2 separate regions of the Homo sapiens genome follow, and region 1 is linked to region 2. The links are contacts of gene promoters, found by promoter capture Hi-C in human tissues and cell types (Jung and others, 2019). All regions are on one chromosome and are shown on one strand. Each heading gives the region's core, a stretch centred on a gene start or on the middle of the fragment in contact. The rest is flanking DNA. Distances are from core to core; before and after follow the strand shown.

Region 1 (2,700 bases), core at 170-2,669, 58 kb after region 2:
GGAGAGCTGACCTGGCTCTGCTACCAAATTGCTGTGGGACATGCGCTATCCTCACCCTCTGCTTGCCCAGGACTTGGCCCTGGCAGGATGGATTCTTTCGGTTGACCTTCAACTGAGGTCCTGTCTTTCAATCTCTCATCCACTCACTGCTGGAAGGATTATCTGAAAACAAAGTCTTAACATCTTAACTCCCCTGGCTTTCAGCTGTGGTCTCCACACATCAGTCTGTGGAGTAGTGTCAAATAGTGATGAAGTTTTCTCTGGTCCATGGTGAAATGTGGAACATAAGGATAAAGTTGACTTTATTTAGGTTTTTTTGTTTGTTTTGTTTTTTGAGGCAGAGTCTCAGTCTGTTGCCCAGGCTGGAGTTGAGTGATGTCAGCTCACTGCAACCTCCACCTCCCAGATTCAAGTGATTCTTGTGTCTCAGCCTCACGAATAGCTGGGACTACAAGCATATGTCACCATGCCCAGGTGATTTTTTTGTATTTTTAGTAGAGATGGGGTTTTGCCATGTTGGCCAGGCTGGTCTTGAACTCCTGGCCTCAAACAATCTACCTGCCTTGGACTCCAAAGTGCTAGGATTACAGGTGTGAGCCACCGCACCTGGCCTTTATTCAAATTTTAAACTCTGAAGTCAGTCTTTTTCTTTCCTTTTTTTTTGTTTTGGGACAGCGTCTTGTTCTGTTGCCCAGGCTGGAGTGCAGTGGCGTGATCTCGGCTCATTGCAACCTCCACCTCCCGGGTTCAAGCAATTCTCCTGCGTCAGCTTCCTGAGTAGCTAGGACTACAGGCACTTGCCACCACGCTTGTCTAATTTTTGTATTTTTAATAGAGACAGGGTTTTGCCATGTTGGCCAGGCTGGTCTCGAACTCCTGACCTCAGGTGATCCACCTGCCTTGGTTTCCCAAAGTGCTGGCATTACCGGCTTGAGCCACCACGCCTATCCTTCTTTCCTGTTCTTTTGGTATTAAAATATTCTTTCTTTTATGAAACCGTTTTCGTAAGAAATCTAGAAGTCTCTGCCCTCAGGATGAAGTCCCAATTCCTTAAGTGGCATTTGCTTAAAGGTCTTTCACAGTCCAACTGCAGATTACATCACATAGTTCCCCAGCTTCTGACACCCCACATCTATTCACTGACTATCCAGTGACACTGAATGGAAACATGGCATGTCTTCTCATGCCTTCAGGCCTCTGAACACCTTGCTTCCTTTTCTCTTTTCTCCTGTCGCTGCCTCTTTTCTCCTCACCCTCCACAGTTTGTTTCTTTCTTTCTTTCTTTTTTTGAGACGGAGTCTCGCTCTGTCGCCCATGCTGGAGTGCAGTGACATGATCTCGGCTCACTGCAGGCTCCGCCTTCTGGGTTCACGCCATTCTCCTGCCTCAGCCTCCCAAGTAGCTGGGACTACAGGGGCCCGCCACCTCGCCTGGCTATTTTTTTGTATTTTTAGTAGAGACGGGTTTTCACCGTGTTAGCCAGGATGGTCTTGATCTCGTGACCTCGTGATCCGCCAGCCTCGGCCTCCCAAAGCTTGCTTTCTTTTTTCTGAGATGGAGTTTCGCGCTTGTCATTCAGGCTGGAGTGCAATGGTGCCATCTCAGCTCACTGCAACCTCTGCCTCCCAGGTTCAAGCGATTCTCCCACCTCAGCCTCCCAAGTAGCTGGGATTACAGGCGCCCGCCATCATAGCCGGCTAATTTTTGTATTTTTGTAGGGACGGGGTTTCACTATGTTGGCCAAGCTGGTCTTGAACTCCTGACCTCAGGTGATATACCCTCCTCAGCCTCCCAAAGTGCTGGGATTACAGCCTGGCCCACAGTTTCTTCCTCTTTGACCTTTCCTTCCCCATGCCAGGCAGCCTGAGTCACTCCCTCCTCAATATAGCGCTGATCACATGTCCTGCAATTGCCTGTCTCATTATGTGTCTCTTCCCATCAGCTGCCAGTTCCTGGAGGTAGGGCCTGGGTCTCACAGCCTGTCCTGAGTAGTAGCCACTCAATGAACATATGTCAAATGAATGAAAGAATGAATGTTTTTGGGAGGCCAAGGTGGGTGAATCACCTGAGGTCAGGAGTTTGAGACCAGCCTGGCCAACATGGCAAAACCCTGCCTCTACTAAAAATACAAAAAATTAGCTGGGCGTGGTGGTGGGTGCCTGTAATCACAGCTACTTGGGAGGCTGAGGCAGGAGAATTGCTTGAACCCAGAACGGGGAGGTTGCAGTGAGCCGAGATCATGCCATTGCACTCCAGCATGGGCAACAGAGCGAGACTCTGTCAAAAGAAAAACAAAACAAAAAAGGAATGAACGTTAATTTTTGAGACATATCCATGTCCTTCTGCTTGTGAAGTTTAGTCTTTCCCGGTAGGTTGAACCTTGCTCAAAGGAAGAGGAGCCTCTGATTTCCTTATTTCCCACTATACTGCATTTACCCTTGCTGCCCTGTGCAGTACTCTGCATGTAGTAGGTACTAATGTGCTGATTACCTGTTCTTCTATGTTCTCTGTGTGGCTTTCCTCTACTTATTCCCTCCCTAGAACTCTCTGCAGTGTCTGAGCTCCTGCAGCATGGGCTGCCCCAGATAAGCAGCAGGAGCCCTGAAAGCCTTGCCTTCCTGTCTGATCGCCAGTACATGGAGGGAGCTGCTCGCCAGAGACAGTACTGCATCCTGCTCCTCTTCTACTTGGCCTACATCC
Region 2 (2,700 bases), core at 4-2,503:
TGTGGGTCAACCCAGTGTCCTCTCCGAAACACCTGCCCCCCAGCTCCTCACAGTGGAGTCCACTGAGGTTCTATCCTGCTCTGTCTCCAAGCTAATCCTGATTGAGGCAGGACACTCCAAAAGCCTCAGCTGCTTATGGGGAGGGGTGGTCCTCTGCATGGGACGCTTTTTTTTTTTTTTTTGAGATGGAGTGTAGGTCTGTGGCCCAAGCTGGAGTTCAGTGGCTTGATCTCCGCTCACTGTAACCTCCGCCTCCTGGGTTCAAGCGATTCTGCTGCCTCAGCCTCCCGAGTAGCTGGGATTACAGTCATGAGCCACCACACCCAGCTAATTTTTGTATTTTTAGTAGAGGAGGGGTTTCGCCCTGTTGCTCAGGCTGGTCTTGAACTTCTTTCTCTCTGTCTTTGGTGTTTTGTTTTGTTTTTTTACTTTTATTTTTTGGTCTTAAGCTTCTGATTTATTTATTTATTTTTAAGATGGAGTCTTCCTCTGTCACCCAGGCTGGAGTGCAGTGGTGCGATCTTGGCTCACTGCAACCTCCACCTCCCAGGTTCAAGTGATTCTCCTGCCTCAGCCTCCCTCCCAAAGTGCTGTGATTACAGGCATGAGCCAACTCACCCAGCCTCTAATTGCTTTTAGATGCGAATCCTTGGGATCGCTTATTTTCCTTTTTTTTTTTTTTTTTGAGATAGAGTCTTGCTCTGTCGCCAGGCTGGAGTGCAGTGGCACAATCTCAGCTCACTGCAACCTCCGCCTCCCAGGTTCAAGTGATTCCCCTGCCTCAAGCCTCCCAAGTAGCTGGGATTACAGGCACTTGCCACCACACCCAGCTAATTTTTTGTATTTTAGTAGAGACGGGGTTTCACCATGTTGGGTAAGATGGTCTTGATCTCCAGATCTCGTGATCCGCCCACCTCGGCTTCCCAAAGTGCTGGGATTACAGGCGTGAGCCACCATGCCCGGCCTTCATTTTTAAAAAACAGTAGAAATAGCTTCCTTTCCTTCCTTTTTCAAGGCAAATGCCCCCTACTTTATAATTGCTTTTCAACTTTGGATGTGGTAAAGACATTCCTGCAGGGTTCTAAGCACAAACCGCTTTTGGCTTAGCTAGACACGATCCAGAGCACTTGCGTCCACCACTTGCCCTCAGTGGCTGCTGCTCGTCTGAGACTGCAGCGCCCTGGGTCCGCGCAGGCGCATTCCACACCGACGCAGGTCCGTCCTCCAAGTGCGCATGCGTGCAGTCTGCGCGGGAAAGAGTGCCGCCTCAGCTGAGGGCAAGCGAGGAGATGGCTGTGAGGCAGGCGGCGACGGCGGGCACTCCCGGGCCCAGGAGAGAGGAAGAGGCGGCGCTTCTATTCGAGAGGGCCCATTACCGGCACGACCCGCGCTGGCTGCTGCCCGTGACCCCCCGCCTGTGCCTGGCCTGCGCGCTGGAGCTGCTGCCGGACCCCGGCGTGTCGGTGCGGGCGGAACCTTTTCTTCAGAAGACCTGGGTTTGGCCATTTCCCTCAGCAAACGCGGCCAGGCCCTTGCCAGACCCGCTCCGGTGAACCCGACGCGAAACCGGGCCCCCGCGCTGTGTTCACTCTCCTCCCTGTCAGCCCGTCCCGGACCCGGCCGCAGCGGCCTCTCGGGCCCCTCAGCCCCAGGCCGGCCTGCGGGCCTCCGTGGAGCCCGGTCCACTGGCTCTGCGCCTGAAAGGACGGAAATCCGGATCCCCCGGGACCTCACCCAGTCTCAGGGACACACCTTCCCGCCTTCCGCCTTCTGGCTCCTTCCCTTTGCTGCCCCTGCCTCCATTTCCCGGGGATTCGGCCTTAGCTCAGGCTCCCGCCATTTCAGCCTCCCGCCATTTCAGCCTCCACTCACCTGCGGGCCAGGGGCGCATGCGGCGGCCGCTCCTCATTCCCTTCAGCTGTCGGGGTGTGAATCGGAGGAGGGGCAGTCTGGGCTCCGAGGGGACAGGAGTGACAGGTTACAGCCGGGCAGAAGTGGGGGTGAACGGGAAGACTGTTCCTTGGGCAGAGCTGGCCAAAGCGGGCTGCCTGGGTCCTCATTGCCTACCGCGTTTGCAATGAAGTGGTTTTGTTTGTTTCGAGACGGAGTCTCGCTCTGACACCCAGGCCGGAGTGCAATGGCGCCATCTCCGCTCACTGCAACCTCTGTTTCCTGGGTTCAAGCGATTCTCCTGCCTCAACCTACCCAGTAGCTGGGATTACAGGCTCCCGCCACCACGCTCGGCTAATTTCTCTATTTTTAGTAGAGACGGAGTTTCATCATGTTGGCCAGGCTGGTCTCGAACTCTTGACCTCAGGTGATCCACCCGCCTCGGCTTCCCATAGTGCTGGGATTATAGGCGTGAGCCACGGTGCCCGACCTGCAGTGAGTTTTCTTGTCCATGGAGGCATCCAAGAAGACTTTGGGAGGTCAAGTTTCTCTCCAATTCATGGGAGGGGAATTCGTGAGTGGGTGGATTGGCTAGATCAGCAGTTCTCAATTTTTTTTTTTTTTTTTTTTTTTTTTGTAGAAACGGTCCCGGGGGTCTCCCTGTGTTGCCCAGGCTGGTCTTGAACTCCTAGTCTCAAGCAATTCTCCTGCCTTGACCTCCCAAAGTCCAAAGTGTTGGGATTGCATCTGTGAGCCACCGTGCCTGGCTGCGTTCTCAAATATTTTGATTTCTTTCTTTCTTTTTTTTTT

The links. The method cuts DNA at HindIII sites, captures the fragments that hold promoters and counts their contacts. A contact is called where the count stands out against the background at its distance.
Region 1: a contact is called between a fragment that was not itself captured here and the fragment with the promoter of MEI1 in region 2, in 5 of the 25 tissues and cell types used here (dorsolateral prefrontal cortex, lymphoblastoid cells, mesenchymal stem cells and 2 more).

What each region holds. Positions count from the first base shown.
Region 1 is chr22:41,755,824-41,758,523 of GRCh38, forward strand. It overlaps MEI1 (meiotic double-stranded break formation protein 1), which reads left to right. Exons shown (of 31, transcript NM_152513.4): 18 at 2,542-2,700. Among named protein-coding and RNA genes, the nearest start is that of CCDC134, 44 kb to the right of the region's middle. The HindIII fragment of the contact is 4,539 bases long and covers 1-2,700 here.
Region 2 is chr22:41,698,250-41,700,949 of GRCh38, forward strand. MEI1 (meiotic double-stranded break formation protein 1) reads left to right here and starts at 1,254. Exons shown (of 31, transcript NM_152513.4): 1 at 1,254-1,463. The coding sequence starts at 1,290. RefSeq lists a silencer at 1,227-1,326. The HindIII fragment of the contact is 9,130 bases long and covers 142-2,700 here.